Regions from separate parts of the Homo sapiens genome. Here region 2 is linked to region 1. Evidence: promoter capture Hi-C in human tissues and cell types (Jung and others, 2019). All regions are on one chromosome and are shown on one strand. Each heading gives the region's core, a stretch centred on a gene start or on the middle of the fragment in contact. The rest is flanking DNA. Distances are from core to core; before and after follow the strand shown.

Evidence for each region. The method cuts DNA at HindIII sites, captures the fragments that hold promoters and counts their contacts. A contact is called where the count stands out against the background at its distance.
Region 2: a contact is called between a fragment that was not itself captured here and the fragment with the promoter of GLYCTK in region 1, in 1 of the 25 tissues and cell types used here (hippocampus).

The regions. Positions count from the first base shown.
Region 1 is chr3:52,282,518-52,290,367 of GRCh38, forward strand. It overlaps GLYCTK (glycerate kinase), which reads left to right and starts at 5,311. Exons shown (of 5, transcript NM_145262.4): 1 at 5,311-5,359; 2 at 7,787-7,850. The coding sequence starts at 7,826. GLYCTK-AS1 (GLYCTK antisense RNA 1) reads right to left here and starts at 7,216. Exons shown (of 1, transcript NR_046719.1): 1 at 6,063-7,216. It overlaps LOC107986086 (a long non-coding RNA gene), which reads right to left and starts at 5,503. Exons shown (of 3, transcript XR_001740699.2): 1 at 5,316-5,503; 2 at 2,011-2,074; 3 at 1-414. RefSeq lists enhancers at 4,896-5,637, 4,943-6,142, 4,969-5,078. The HindIII fragment of the contact is 16,985 bases long and covers 1-7,850 here.
Region 2 is chr3:51,532,982-51,540,831 of GRCh38, forward strand. LOC105377085 (a long non-coding RNA gene) reads left to right here. Exons shown (of 3, transcript XR_940835.3): 2 at 2,805-3,006; 3 at 3,178-3,688. RAD54L2 (RAD54 like 2) reads left to right here and starts at 5,738. Exons shown (of 23, transcript NM_015106.4): 1 at 5,738-5,934. RefSeq lists enhancers at 5,512-5,806, 6,625-6,714 and a silencer at 5,695-6,094. The HindIII fragment of the contact is 7,506 bases long and covers 1-7,462 here.

The DNA.
Region 1 (7,850 bases), core at 4,061-6,560:
TTGAAAGAGGCCTGGAACCAGATGCCCACTTTAGATACTAGGGAAGTTTAATTACTTCTAATTTCCCCAGATAAGGAGTTTTGCCTCTGGATGGCCTGTTGGATGGTTACCAGGTGGTCTTTGCTCCCTTCTAAATTCCTCAGATAAGGGCCAGGCACAGTGGCTCATGCCTGTAATCCCAGCACTCTGGGAGGCCAAGGTGGGTGAATCACTTGAGGTCAGGAGTTCAAGACCAGCTTGGGCAGCATGGTGAAACTGCGACTCCACCAAAAAATACAAAAATTAGCCAAGCATGGTGGTGTGCGCCTGTAGTCCCAGCTACTCGGGAGGCTGAGGCAGGAGAATTGCTTGAACCCGGGAGGCGGAGGTTGCAGAGCCGAGATCGCACTCCAGCCTGGGCGATAGAGTGAAACTCTGTCTCAAAAAAAAAAGAAAGAAAAAAAATAAATATTACAAGGATGAAGTAAGCCATTTTTATTTAGACAGAATTTAAGTGTGTGCATGGAAAATCTTGTGGGATATACATGAATATGACCAGAAATAATAAATAAATTTAGTTACTAATGTATGTCCACTTCTACTGGAATTCCTCAGAGAGGTCTTGAGACTCCAGGACCGGGGGCCTGGATAAAAAGAAAGTATCTTTCCCTGGCAGCAGGACTAACTACCCAATTTGTAGGGCCCCTTGTTAAAAAATTGCTAAGAATCTCAAGATGACAACAACAGAATATTAAATGAAGTGCAGGGTCCTTCTGACTATACAAGTCACACACCCATGAAGCTGGCTCAACCCAGGACTAGTACAGCAACAACACTGAGCCTTTCTACATGCACTGGAAACATACTGTGATGAAGACTCTGAAGTTCTGAGAGGTTAACTTTCTCAGGGTCACTTAACCAATAAGCACTGAAGTCTGGATTCACACTCTGCTTCAGCACTGGAAAGCTTGTGTTCTGTTTCCAGGGCAAAGGACAAGAAATCATTCACATTTAACAAAGACCACTGTCGGTAAATAATACCTTCTTAGTCTGGAAGGAAAGGATGGAATCTTCCCAGATAAGCCTTGACTGCTCAGAGCCAGAAGGAACTGCCTAGAGTCTCAGGGCCAAGGCCACTGTCTCTAAAACTACAGCACTGTTTCCTAAGGCTTAAAAACTCCCAAACAATCCAACATACACAGCTTTAGTGGCCTCTCATCAGTGCTTGCCTAGAGTCATGCTGAACTGCTTCCTAGTGTTTTGTTTTACTCTCCCCAACTCCTCCTTCCAAGAAAAATAGCTTTAAGATGTTTTATTTTTTTTAATTTTTTTTTTTTTTTTTTTGAGACAGAGTCTCACTCTGTCACCCAGGCTGGAGTGCAGTGGTGTGATCTCAGCTCACTGCAACCTCTACCTCCTGGGTTCAAGCAATTCTCCCACCTCAGCCTTCCGAGTAGCTGGAATTATAGGTGCGTGACACCACATCCGGCTAATTTGTTGTTGTTGTTGTTGTTGTTGTTGTTGTTGTATTTTTAGTAGAAACGGGGTTTTGCCATGTTGGCCAGGCTGGTCTCAAACTCCTGACCTCAAGTGATCCGCTCACCTCGGCCTCCCAGTTTTAAGGTGTTGTACAGCCCTTACATAGGACACAGCTCCACTTTACCCTGCCTCCAACACAGCTGACCTTCCCTCCCACGGAGTAACCCTGCAAGCCCAGGCTGGGCACAGTGGCTTACACCTATAGTCCCAGCACTTTCAGAGGCTGGGGCAGGAGAACTGCTTGAGCCCAGGAGTTTGAGACCAGCTTGGGCAACAAAGCAAGACCCTGTCTCCACAAAAAATTAGCCAGGCATGGTGGTGTGCACCTGTAGTCCCAGCTACTTGAGAGGCTGAGGCAGGAGGATCGCTACAACCCAGGAGGTTGAGGCTATAGTGAGCTGTAATCACCACTGTCCTCCAGCCTGGGCGACAGTGTGAGACTTTGTCTCCTAAAAACAAAAAAAAATTAAAATTAAAAGTACCACTTCTTACCTATCCCAGCAGCTACAGCATTCGGCCCACACAGAAGGCACTCAGGAAATGTCTTGAATTATGTCTGAGGAAGGAATAAATGCATGGAAGGAATATAGCTGACTATAACCAAGAAAAAACAATAAAATTTTCAGTATTTACAACCTCTCCCACATTAAAGAGGGCAATTCCACCTACGGATGCCTTTGTTTTGATGATGTGGTGGGAAATCATTTAGGAGAAGGAATACAAAGTCTCATATTTTAAAAGGAAAAATCCAGGGAGAAGGACGGGTGTGGTGGCTCACACCTGTAATCCCAGCACTTTGGGAGACAGAGGCAGGAAGATGGTTTGAGCGCAGAAGTTTGAGACCAGCCTGGCCAACATGGCAAAACCACTTCTCTACAAAAAATACAAAAAATTAGCTGGGTGTGGTGGTGCACGTCTGTGGTCCCAGCTACTTGGGAGACTGAAGTGGGAGGATCACTTGAGCCTCGGAGGTGGAGGTTGCAATAATCCAAGATGATGGCACTGAACTCCAACCTGGGTGACAGAGTGAGATCCTGTCTCAAATAAAAATATATGTATATATAAGAAAAAGAAAAATCCAGGGAGAGAGCTGGAAGTGGGGGCCAGAGGAAGGGAAAGGTTCATGACAAGAGCACAGCATGGTTTGGAGACCTAAGGAGAGATGTAGCAACTGCCAAAGGGAGCAGGTAGGGGGTGTGAAAAGAAAATAAAATTTTAGGACATTCCCAATTTATAATGTGAAGGAGAAAAGTGAAGCCCTGGAAACTGAGCAGGCATTGCTTTTTTTTTTTCTTCTCTGATGCATGACTGCTGCTTCCTGATCTTTGTATTGAAATGTTATACATTAACCAGGCTCCCTATTCTTCATTCAGACTTAGACTAGATGATGTGGGAGATAGAGACCCTTGTGATTGTTGTCTCTTTACAATAGAATGTTAAGCAAACTCCTTCCAGTATAATCAATAGTAGCCAACCAAATCTTGTATTTATGTTAGCCTTTTTTTGGAAAATGTTGTAATTCTGGTCAGCACTCCTGTTTTTGCCTATATAAACAATCTTTTTTTTTTTTTTTTTTGAGACGGAGTCTCGCTTTGTCACCCAGGCTGGAGGGCAGTCACGCAATCTCGGTTCACTGCAACCTCCCAGGTTCAAGCAATCCTCCTGCCTCAGCCCCACCAGTAGCTGGGATTACAGGCACACACCACCATGCCTAGCTAATTTTTGTATTTTTAGTAGAGACGGGGTTTCGCCATGTTGGCCAGGCTGGTCTTGAACTCCTGACCTCAGGTGATCCACCTGCCTCAGCCTCCCAAAGTGCTAGGATTACAGGTGTGAGCCACTGTGCCCGGCCCATGCCCAGCTAATTTTTGTATTTTTTAGTAGAGATGGGGTTTCACCATATTGGTTAGGCCAGTCTCGAACTCCTGACCTCAAATGATCCCACCTGCCTCAGCCTCCCAAAGTACTGGGATTGCAGGCATGAGCCACTGCACCTGTCCCAAAAACACATTTCTAATGTCAACCTAAAAATCATCAAAAGGTTCGATATCCAGTTAAAAGAATTTATTCAAGCATAAAGTGTGAGGGCAGCCATCCAGGGAAACACAGACACCAAGCAGTGGCAATTAGTGTTCTCCAGCATGGGGAAAGATGAAGGTTGTTTATATAGGCCGGGCGCCTGTAATTGTTTATACGCCTGTAATCCCTGCACTTTGGGAGGCCAAGGGCGGTGGATCACAAGGTCAGGAGTTCGAGACCAGCCTGGCCAACATGGTGAAACTCTGTCTCTACTAAAAATACAAAAATTAGCTGGACGTGGTGGCGGGCGCCTGTAGTCCCAGCTATTCGGGAGGCTGAGGCAGGAGAATTGCTTGAACCTGGGAGGCGGAGGTTGCAGTGAGCCGACATCGTGCCCAGGCTGCAGTGCAGTGGCCGTGAGCTGAGACTGTGCCATTGCAGTCCAGCCTGGGTGACAGAGCAAGACTCCACCTCAAAACCAAGAGAAAGAAATGTGTTTTTGTTTGTTGGTTTTTTTTTGAGACAGGGGCCCAGGTTGGAGTGCAGTGGCGTGATCAAGGTTCACTGCAGCCTCTACCTCCCAGGCTCAGGTGATCCTCCCATCTCAGCCTCCTGAGTAGCTGGGACTACAGGAGCATGCCACCACACCTGGCTCTTTTTTTTTTGGTAGAGATAAGTTTCGCCATGTTCCCAGGCTGGTCTCGCATTCCTAGGCTCAAGCGATCCGCCCACCTTGGCCTCCCCAATGTTGGGATTACAGGCGTGAAACACTGCGCCCTGCCAAGAAACATGTTTCAATAAAATTGTTAGGAAATCAAGTGTGTGATTTGTGATGCAACTCTCTCCTCTATCTCCCTAAGAAAACATCAGTAAAAACAGTGAACTGTTTTGTATTTTTGGAGTCTGATCAGGACTCATCTTATGAATGTGGGAAGGCATCCAGCCAACACAGGGTAGGCCCCGGATGAGAGTAGGGACAGCGAGGTAGGCCCAGAGTCATTAGCGTTTACATGCCGCTTATGTGCTTGAGGATCGCAGAATGGAACTCTTGCTAAGCCAGAGCTGTATTTGGTGGCCCATGGTGGGAGAGGGAAGAACAATAATAAGTTGTGGAATAAAAGCCATGGAGAGGAGCGGGAATTACTTAATCTGGCTCCAGAAGGGGTGAGTTGTGGGGAAGTAGTGATTCTCAGTTCGTTTGCTCAGCCCAGTCAGTGCCTGACACTCAGGGTGCATCTGCTGACTGACCGTACAGGATAAAGGAAGGGAGAGGCCGGGTGCGGCGGCTGAAGTCTGTAATCCCATCACTTTCGGAGGCTGAGGTGGGTGGATCGCTTGAGGTTAGGCGTTCGAGACCAGCCTGGGCAACATGGCGAAAGCCCGTCTCTACTAAAAAATACAAAAATTAGCCCGGAGTGGTGGCACATGCCTGTAATCCCAGCTACTCGGGAGGCTGAGGCATGAGAATCGCTTGAATCCGGGAGGCGGAGGTTGCATTGGGCCGAAACCGCGACTCTGCACTCCAGTCTGGGCGACAGAATGAGACCCCGTCTCAAAAAAAAAATCGGCAATCGGTGAGGCGGGGATTATTACCCTCAATGTAGAGATTTAAAAAATGAGGACTGAAGGTGACTCCTTCCAGGTCTGTCAGTGGCCAGCAAAGAGCCAATATGCTAAACTCTCCCCTCCCGGACACCGGCTTCAGCCAGAGCTCGCACCCGCCTGCGCCGCTCCACCCACCCACACTTCCGGCTTCCGCTCCGCCCACCCCCTAGTACTTCCGTTCTCCAGCGCTGGGCACCGCGGCCGGAGCTGTGGGCTGGTAAGTCTGCGCCGCCAGGGCTCGCATGGCCTTCAGAAGCGGTCCCTGGGCTGGGCGATGACGGGTCCTGGTGGCAGCAGGCCCTTCTTTCTCGCATCACCGGGCATTACGCGGCAGCCATTTCCCTCGCTAAGGCCCTACCTTAGGATGACGTCACTTCCGGCCCCCTACTGTCTAGGGAAAGCCGGAAATGGTACCAGCCTTCTTTGATGGCGGGGAGGAGTCAAGACCGGTAGTCTTCCTATTTCCGTTGTTTTGCTCTGGAGCCTCCCGGAGTTTCGGAGAGACCGTGTCTTGGATAGAATTGGAGGACTTAGCAAATAAAAATGCAAAGCGTCCAGTTACATTTTTTTTGAGTTAGAATCTCACTCTGTCACCCAGGCTGGAGTGCAGTGGCGCGATCTCGGCTCACTGCAACCTCCGCCTCCCCTGTTCAAATGATTCTCATGCCTCAGTCTCCCGAGTAGCTGGGATTACGGGCGCCCACCACACCCGGCTAATTTTTGTATTTTTAGAAGAGACGGGGTTTCACCACGTTGGTCAGGCTGGTCTCGAACTCCTGACCTCAGGTGATGCGCCCGCCTCAGCCTTCCAAAGTGCTGGGATTACAGGCGTGAGCCACTGCGCCGGGCCACGTCCAGTTAAATTTGAGTTAAGATAAACGACGAATAATTGTTAAGTCCTAAACATTGTATGCACATACTTATACTTTAAAAATTACTTGTTTATTTGAAATTCAAATTTAACCGGAAGTCCTGTATTTTCTCTGGCAGCCTTAGCATTGAGCGTCCCCCTGTCCTGTGCTCATACCCAGTGGCAAGGCTGGGATCTTCTAGGCTCTTGTCCATCTGGGAAATAGATACAAATTTCATCCAGGCTATAAAGACCGGCTGTCTTAGTTGCTAAGATGCTTTTAGCTCCAAGTCCAATGGGCAAGCTCCAGGGGTCCCCCTGGCCAAAACTGGACCCATTTTCGGAATCCCCATGACGATGCCCTCTGTGTTCCCTTTCACAACAGAAGTCAGGCATGGCTGTCTTTTCTTACCGGAGAGCTGAGAACTAGGCAAGCAAAATGGTCAAAGTCTAGAAGTAACCACCATATTTGGGTGTGGGGTAAACCGGTGTTTGAGATCTGTGTTGCAGTGGACAGTATCAGAGAGCCTGAGGTTGTTAAGGGAAGAGCGTAGTGTTAATCTCACCCCATGTCTCATTTTGCGGATGAGGCCCAGTGAGAGAAATGGAGGTGTCCCAGCCACTCAGAAAGCCTATAGTAGAGCTGGAACCTCAATTCCCAGCCTCCTTACCCTGCTCAGTCCATACTTGCTGATGAAGTCAGCTTGCAACATTTATGGTAGGCATTTATTAAAGTAGATGCAATAGTACATATGTAGTACAGATGAGCTGTTTGGGTCTTTGTTGTTCCTATACCCCTCTACAGCTTCCTGACCTTCGCCCCAAGGCTTCTTTAGCTTTTACTCTGCCCAGTGGGGAAAATGGCTATGGGCTCAGTTATGGGAGCCTGGCCTTTGCCTACTTCAGCCCTTGGGCTCTCACCACTGTGGGTGGTGTGACCTAGGACTTGTTTTTGTTATCTTGGAACCAGAAGGCGTGTTCTTGGCAGGGTTGGGTCTGGCCAACTGTGTGGGTAGAAGGGCATCCTTTTCTGTCCTGCAATTGGGCTTCATGGCACATGGCCTCACATGGTGCCTGGGGACTTTTCTAAGGTTCCACCATGAGCCAGACTTTGCCCTCACTCCTGATTTGAACCTAAACCTCTTGCTGAACTGGTCCTGCATACTGAGATTCCTCAGATTGCTTGCCCTGAGGATGTGTTCTGGGTTTGACCTGATAAACCTGCAGCCTCCTATAGACCCTGACTTCCCAGGCTCCTAATCCCAGTCTCATGAGATAATGAAATAGAGAAGACTGGAGGTCAATGGGCTCAGGGTCAGTTGGTGGGACAATCAACAGCTTCCTGGCAGCAGAGGTGGTAAAGAGGCAAGGAAGGAGTGCCAGAAAGGGGCGTTGCCCCAGGGTAACAGCGCAGAAGTGCAGGGGGTGGAAAAGGGGTGGGATGGGAGCCCACTGGTAGAAATTACTCCCTCTGTCAATGATTAACTCCCAGCCAAAGGGGTGACCTGGGAGGAGGGCCCAGCTAATAGGAACTTTGGACTTGAGGCAGAGTATCCAGAGGGCCGGCATGTGGTCTGCAGAAGAGGAGGACGTGGCTGGGTGGCAGGGCTGGTCTCCAAGGACGAGTAAGATCCTGCAGCTGCAGGCTTCAGGAAGTCTCCTGGGGCTATCAGATGGCTCCTTCTTGTAGCAGCAGCTGTGGGGTCCACTGGCCCTGAGCCCTCAGAGGGGCGGCCGTGGGGGACCTCCTGTCTTTTGCCTTGCAAGGGCCTCAGTTGTGCTTTTTCCCTCTAGGCAGCCATGGGTGCCAGGCAGTGCTGAGAGCAGTGGGGCATGGCTGCAGCCCTGCAGGTCCTGC
Region 2 (7,850 bases), core at 2,460-4,959, 750 kb before region 1:
TGGTGGGTAGGAAAAGGCAGTGGCTGGAGGGAACCTGGGTGTGACACTGAGTGGCAGATAGAGCAGGACTGGGTAATCTCTCAGACATGGCTGGAAAGGTGAGCACAAGTGAGAATAGGGCGGAGAAGTTGTAAGAGAGGTTTGTAACCGACATGAAAAGAGTTGTGGAGACTTTGGAGGATAGGAATTGTTTGAGAGTGAGGAAGAACGAAGTGCCCTTCCTTGACATACCGTGGTCCTTGCTTTTGGAGGTTCTGGGCCTGGAAGTCCTCCTTTTCTTCTGAGGAGGAAAGAGGAGAGAACAAGGACAGGGACAGAAACTGGCCTTGCATGGGTTATAGGGCTACTTGTTTGGCTACCTGATCTGCTAAAGCATTTCCGGCCGATATAGAATTGTCTGGGATTTGGTGGCCCCTGCAATGAATGATGGCAACTTTCTGTGGGAGACTGGCAGCTTGAAGGAGCTTGCTGATGAGAGAGCCATTTATGACACGAGTGTTTTTTGCAGTTAGGAAACCTCGTTCTTTCCAGATAGACGAGTGTGAGTGTACTTCATGGAACGCATAACGAGAATCCAAATATATGTTAATTTGTTGTCTGGCTGCTAGAGTGAGAGCTTGAGTGACAGCAATGAGTTCAGCTTTTTGGGAGGTGGTGCCTAGGAGGAGCGGAAAACCCCTGCCCCAGGTTTCGGCACCAGATGAAAGTTCTTGTATCGGTTCAAACCCCGAGAGCACGCCAATGGACAACACGAGGCGGTGTGGAGCAACACACTGTTTTAATGAGCGCCTGGGTGCAGGCGGGCTGAGGCCTAAAATGGCATCAGCCCCAAGTGAGGATGGGGCAGGGGTTTTATAGTCTCCTGTAAACAGGAAGTGTCCCAGTCTGACGTAACTGCTACGTGGTACCTGGGTGGCCTTTTTCTCGATCTTCAGAGTTACGTGTCTTCCGGCCAGGGGAGGTGTCTTCCGGCCTGGGTAGGTGTCTTCCGGCCGGCTCTCTTCCTGCTTCTGCTATCTTGCTGACGCACACTGCTAGCGCAAGTGGCCTTTTGCCTTGGGACTGGGCCTGAGAAGGGAGGAGTTACTCATCCCTTCAAGCTTTCAGGCCCTGGGGAGAATCTTTCACAGGGCAGTTATCTGGGGCTTCTCACTACACCTACACACCATGTTGCCCCCAAGTTCTGGTCCCTCTGCCTAGAATTCTTCTTCCCTGAGACTTTACATGGTTCTCGTTAGCATTCTTGGCATTCAGGATTCAGCTCACAGGACACCTCATTGGGTTGGTCTTACCCAATGCCTTCCCTCTTCCAACAGCCTCTCTCCCATACTGGTCTCTGTTTCGTGTTTTCAGAACTTATTAGAATTTGCAATTATTTTGTACTGTCTTTCTCACCTGTTTAGAAGGTAAGCTACTTGAGGGCAGAGACCTGTTCCCTCCTGTTTAGTGCTGTGTTCCCCAGGGCATATCAGCATCTGAAATACAACTGGGGAACAATAAACATCTGTTCATTTGAATGAACATCCATATAGGATAGGTTTCTATTAGTCACATTCTACAGACCACACTCTTCTAGGCTCAACTCTGAACATACTTCCTCATTCATGTTGGGGATGGTTATAAGCATGGGCTCTGGACCTAGATGATCTGCACTCAAACCCCATCGCTCTTCTGACTTCTCAGCTTATTTTTCCACCTTTGAAGTGGAATGTTGATGTGAGGATTAAATGAGTTAATAACTGTAAAATGCTTATGGTCATGCCTGTCATGTCTTACTAGTATTCCCCAGCATTGGGTACAGTGCCTGGTACATCTTTTATTTATTTATTTATTTATTTATTTATTTTTGAGACGGAGTCTCGCACTGTCACCCAGGCTGGAGTGCAATGGCGTCATCTCGGCTCACTGCAAGTTCTGCCTCCTGGGTTCACGCCATTCTCCTGCCTCAGCCTCCTGAGTAGCTGGGACTACAGGCGCCCGCCACCACGCCTGGCTAATTCTTGTATTTTTAGTAGAGACGGGATTTCACCATGTTAGCCAGGATGGTCTTGATCTCCTGACCTCATGATCCGCCCGCCTTGGCCTCCCAAAGTGCTGGGATTACAGGCATGAGCCACCGTGCCTGGCCAGTGCCTGGTACATATTGGTACCCAGTAAATAGTTGCTGAATGGGGAATTTTATGGCGTAGCAATTATGCTAGGCCGTCATTAGATACTGGGGTCGATTTTTAAAAAATCTCCTAGGACATTATAATCTGGGTGATGAGTGGTATACAAGCAGAAAAGGTAAAAATATCCCAAGAATGGGATGACTGTTGAAGAAAGCAATACAACCCTTTGTCACCTTGGAATCTGGTTCAGAGTGATCATGGCTTTGGCATTCAGAAGTGAGGGGGGGCCATTAAGTGTGGCTGGTGGGTGCAGGATTGATCTAACTCTCACGGAATAAGCAGGAGGTGAAACAGATAAAATGAAGAGGGTGGCTTGAACCTGGGAGGTGGAGGATGCAGTGAGCCGAGATCACGACACTGCACTCCAGCCTGGGTGACAGAGCAAGACTCCATCTCAAAAAAAAAAAAAAAAAAAAAAATGAAGAGAGTGTTTTTCCATGTGTGTTTTCATGGTGATGAAGAAAACCTTGTTCTGGTTTCTGATTAACCAACAAGTCCCTGGTGAATTTTGCCTAATCCCAGAAGGGCAGTCCCAGATCTTTTAAACTCACTTAAAGGTATAGCCAACAATAGGCAGGTGTATGCATAAATCACTCTAGGGACTTCCCCTAATAGAACCAAATCTTTCTACAGGTGAATTTTGGGGTACCATGAATCTCAGAGGTTGTTGTGCGGGCATGACATCATCCAAGTAGTCAGGGAATTTCTAGAAGGGTGGGGAAACAGATGTTACAGAAGGACAATGCCATCCTGGGAGGAGGGAATGGAAGAGGCTTCCATCACCAGGGGAGCTAGCTCTGGCCTTTGTGGCTCCTACTTTAGTGACATGAGAAAGGTAAGTGTCTATGTTTTGGTGGTTGTGCCTTAAGTCTTTTAATTGGGGGCCAGGGGATGGGGGTGGGGGGATTAACAATAGGAGTGTGTGTGTGTGTGTGTGTGTGTGTGTGTGTGTGCGTTTAAATATATCTGGCCAACCTGACTGGTTTCTTTCTCCTCTCTTTGGTAGTCTCTGGGGCTTTCATGTGAACCTGTTTCAACTCCTGAGGCCAAATATGCTCTATGTGTCACCCGGAGAGTCCCAGCTAAGAGGCCAAATGAGTAAAATGCAAGACATGAAGCTGGGAGGGGTCGGAATGCTGATCTGACCTCAGGCTGCTGGAGAGAAGTTAACTAGCTTTTTAAAATTTTTATTTATTTTTTTAAGAGATAGTGTCTTGCTATATTGCCCAAGCTGAACTTGACTTCCTGGGCTCAAGTGAGCCTCCTGCCTCAGCCTTCTGAGAAGCTGGGACTACAGAAATGTGCCACTGCACTTGGCTGGAACCAGCTTTTGAGGCATTCTTTGCCTCTGAAGAACCTAGGATGAAGTTCCTCTTACCTGAGGAAGCGGAGAAGCTTCCAGAGGCTTTGACTGTGCTGCTTTCTAACCCATGAGCCTGCTGTTTCCAGAAGGAACACTCTATTAGTCTGTTCTCACACTGCTATAAATAAATGCCTGGCACTGGATAATTTATAAAGAAGAGGTTTAATTGGCTCATGGCTGTACAGAAAGCATGATGCTGGCATCTGCTGGGCTTCAGGGGAGGACTCAGAAAACTTACATTCATGGTGGAAGGCGAAGGGGGAGCGAGCACCTCACAAGGCTGGAGTAGGAGGAAAAGAGAAGTGGGGGGAGGTGCCATACACTTTTTTTTTTTAAGACAGCCTCACTGTTGCCCAGGCTGGAGTGCAGTGGCACAATCTCAGCTCACTGCAATCTCCACCTCCTGGGTTCAAGTGATTCTCCTGCCTCAGCCTCCCGAGTAGCTGGGATTGCAGACACACACCATCATGCCTGGCTAATTTTTGCATTTTTAGTAGAGACAGGGTTTTGCCATTTTGGCCAGGCTAGTCTCAAACTCCTAACCTCAGGTGATCCACTTGCCTCGGCCTCCCAAAGTGCTGGGATTATAGGTATGAGCCACCGCGCCTAGCCGACACCATACACTTTTAAACAACCAGATCTTGTGAGAACTCACAAGAAGAGAACCAAAGGGACAGTGCTAAGCCATTCATGAAGGATCTACCCCCATGATCCCATTACTTCCCACCAGACCCCACCTCCAACATTGGGGATTACAATTCAACATGAGATTTGGGTGGGGACACAGATCCATATTAGATAGCAAAGTGCCTTTTGACAGGCAGAACCCTTTCATTACCTCCAGAAAATAATATAAATGAAAAATCAGGCATATATGTGTCTCAGAAGCCAAGGGGGTATGTAAAAATGGGAAATTTGAGAACACCTGAAAATTAGGATTTTTTTTGGAACACCTTCTGCAGATCTAAATTCCCATCAAGAGTTAGCTCCAAAAATAACCGCATCTGGTATCTTAGAGGTGTGAAGGCCTAGAAGAAAAGGAAAGTGGGGACGAGAAAGGAATTGCTATCCTCTTGATTTTATGAGTAAAATACAAAGCCTTCAAAGAAAGATGCACTTTTGTAATTTAAAACATCACTTTGTCGGCCAGAGGTGGTGGCTCACGCCTGGTGGCCCAGCACTTTGGGAGGCAGAGGTGGGCAGGATCACCTGAGGTCAGGAGTTCGAGACCCGCCTGCCCAATATGGCGAAACCCTGTCTCTACTAAAAATGCAAAAAATTAGCGGGGCGTGGTGGCGGGCGCCTGTAATCCCAGCTACTCGGGAGGCTGAGGCGGGAGAATAGCTTGAACCCAGGAGGCGGAGGTTGCAGTGAGCCAAGATCCCGCCACTGCACTCCAGCCTGGGCGACAAGAGCGAAACTCCTTCTCAAAAAAAAAAAAATCATTTTGTCAACATTCACTTATTGGGAAGAGGAGAAGAGAACCTGAGGCTATAGTGGAGAGAGCCGTTACAGTCCCATCAGTAACTGGAGCCCACATGGCCACATGGCAGTAATTCCCAACTTGAGGAAGGAGAACCTGCACCCTTAACCTCCACCTGAGTGTCAGCAATCAAGAAAGCCCCCTTTTGCCTCTGCTTCTCTTCCAGGGAATTCTGAAGACAGCTTCACTTAACAGGAAACAGGATGGTAGGTGGGGACCGAGGGTGAAAAAAGAAGAGTTACATGATGCGCATAATTTCAAGGGCCCTTGAGGGCTGAGCACAACCTATGTTGGAGGCAACAGTAGCAGCAGCATTGGCAGGATCAGTAACGATCGTACCCCGGTGTAGAGCTCCCTATCTCTGAGCTAGGTATTCGCATCACCTCATTCAATCCTAACAAGCCGCCTAGATTATTCCCAATGAGAAATGAGGAGAAACTGAGGCTCAATTGAGATGCTAAATGGCTGGCGAGTGCAAAACCATTCCGTTGGACCCACCCCTAGAACCATTCTCAGGCAGCTTCTGGCTTGGGATTTCTGTGCGGCATTCATTCCAGAAACGGTCCCATCCAGGCAGGAATCGCCGTACACCCGGCGCAGGGGAACGGCCTTCAGTCGGCTCTCAGCGGAACTTTCCTCTCCGCGGCGCGTGTTCCCGTCCGTGCGGTCGGGCGCGCGGGCCGGGAGGGGGACGCTTTCTGGCGCGGACCGTGAGCGGAGGCTGGCGAGCGCCGCCGCCGGTGGAGACCGACGCTTGGCCAGAGCCAGCCCGCGGCGCCCGGGCCTGGCCGGCTGCTTCCCGCCTCAGCCGCCGCCCCCGCCTCCGCCGCCGCAGACTTTGCCTAGGCGGGCGAAGCTGAACGTGAGGTCCCTCGGCCCTGCGCGGTCCGGCGCGGCCCGGAGCCGCGGCGCAGGAGGTGAGACGCCGGTGCCGGTTCCTCGCTCCCGGCCGGGGCCGCCGGGTCCCGCAACAATGGGGACCGACTGGAGACGCGGCCTGGGCCCCTGCCATGCAGTGGCTCGGGGCAGCTAGATGGACCCAGCGGCCCGGGCCTTCGGGGCACGGGGTCCCCCACCCGGGAAACTCCAGTGGCCGGAGGCTTGGCGGGGGTCTTGGGCCTCGACCCGGGGCCTCAGTGGCTTGATATTTGAGGATTTCGTAGCCGGGGAAGGGAGTCGTAGGGACACGGAGACTTAACTGTTGCCCCTCTGCGCTTTTGGCTCTGGATGCTGGCGCCCCGGAGGATGACCAGAGCGCGGTGTGGGGTTGGGAAAGTATTTGGAATTTTAGGGGCTTCTGTGTGTCTAATCCCTAAGGCGCATCTGGATGCGTCTCCCCGACCCCCTCTCCTGAGGTCTGGGAATTTGGCAGACTGGGGTCGGGCTGGGGCAGAAGAGGCATTGAGAGTTTAGCTTCCCTGAGGTAACTGGTGATTAGTTCCTGGAAAGGCAGGAGCTCAGCTGGGCACAAGAGAGTTAAGCAGAGAGCTGGATCCTCCGGGGCCCTGATGCACCCTGACGAGGAGTGGTTTTCAGGCAAGGAACTTATCACAGGAGTGAGTAGTGGCACACGGTGAGTAGTGCTAGCTGTCTTGTCGTTAGGGTGAGGCCGGTGGGAGTTGTGGTTTGGGGAGTGTAGAGGAGGGTTGATAGGCTACTGAGATTGGAGAATCAGCTTTATGTGGGTCATGGTGGTGGCAGCCTGGGAGATGAACAAGGAAACTTTGCAGAGTGGGCTTCCTGATGGAGAGTGACCTCTTACTGCGTGGGAGTGGGTGACTCAGATCTGTTAGGATTCCTGTTGCTTGCTAGGGATTGTGGCTGACTATATTGGTGGCTGAACATTGAGGTGGATGCAACTGGAAGGGTTATGTGGGGCTGGATGAGTTTGTTCCCACGTAGAGGACAGTGTGGACCTTTCTTACTCCAAGTCAGAGTGGTGACTGTCATTGACAACATTTTAAGTAAGGAATTTCTTTGTGGTATTTGGATCCAAAGCTTTTCTCTGTTCATTTTTTTCTTTCCTCCGTTGTTTTTGAATTGTGACTCATACTTTCTTTTCAGCACTGTGGCTATTTGAAATGATAGACAAACTTAGACTTCATCATACATGTAAGTTCCAGGCGTTTTCAGTCCAATTCTTATAAATCTAAATTTAAAAGCTTCTTTTCACTAATTTGTGTACCATTGTTTAATGTGTGCAACACTAAAGAAGGATAAGAAAACTCTAACATTTATGTTGTTAAATGGTCTTTCCATCCTTAAATCCATGAAATTTCATCTTCTCTTACTGCCATGAAGTGAGTTCGTTGAATCTATTAAATCTTAGTGACTCTCATTTCAGCATCCTTGTTTACTCTCACAGGACATTGTCTTCACTAGAAGTATTATCCATCTTCAATGAATTTGGCCTGTACACTGTCTCCCTGTGACAATCTATATCATTGAAAGACAGTACGCAAACTCCAACTCTGAGGCCTGCAGCTGTGGGCCGGAGCTCTGTATGTATTATTCAGGCAAAAGTTGGTGTGTTGTCTGTAGGTGAGGTTTAAAGGGAACCCTACATGAACAAAAACAGTATCAGAATCATTGTACCTTCTGAGTTTAGAGTGGTAGGAAATATAGCCTAACTGGAGTCTAGTATAAACTTTCAAGTGCAATGTTAGGTAATTCTGTTTGTAGTTGTACTGATAGTTCTCATTATTGTAAACATTATCTTTTTCCTTAAGCTTTAAATAATTATTTTTCTTCAATGGTATTCTTTCTTTCTTGGCTGGGTGTGGTGGCTAACGCCTGTAATCCCAACACTTTGGGAGGTCGAGGCGGGCATATC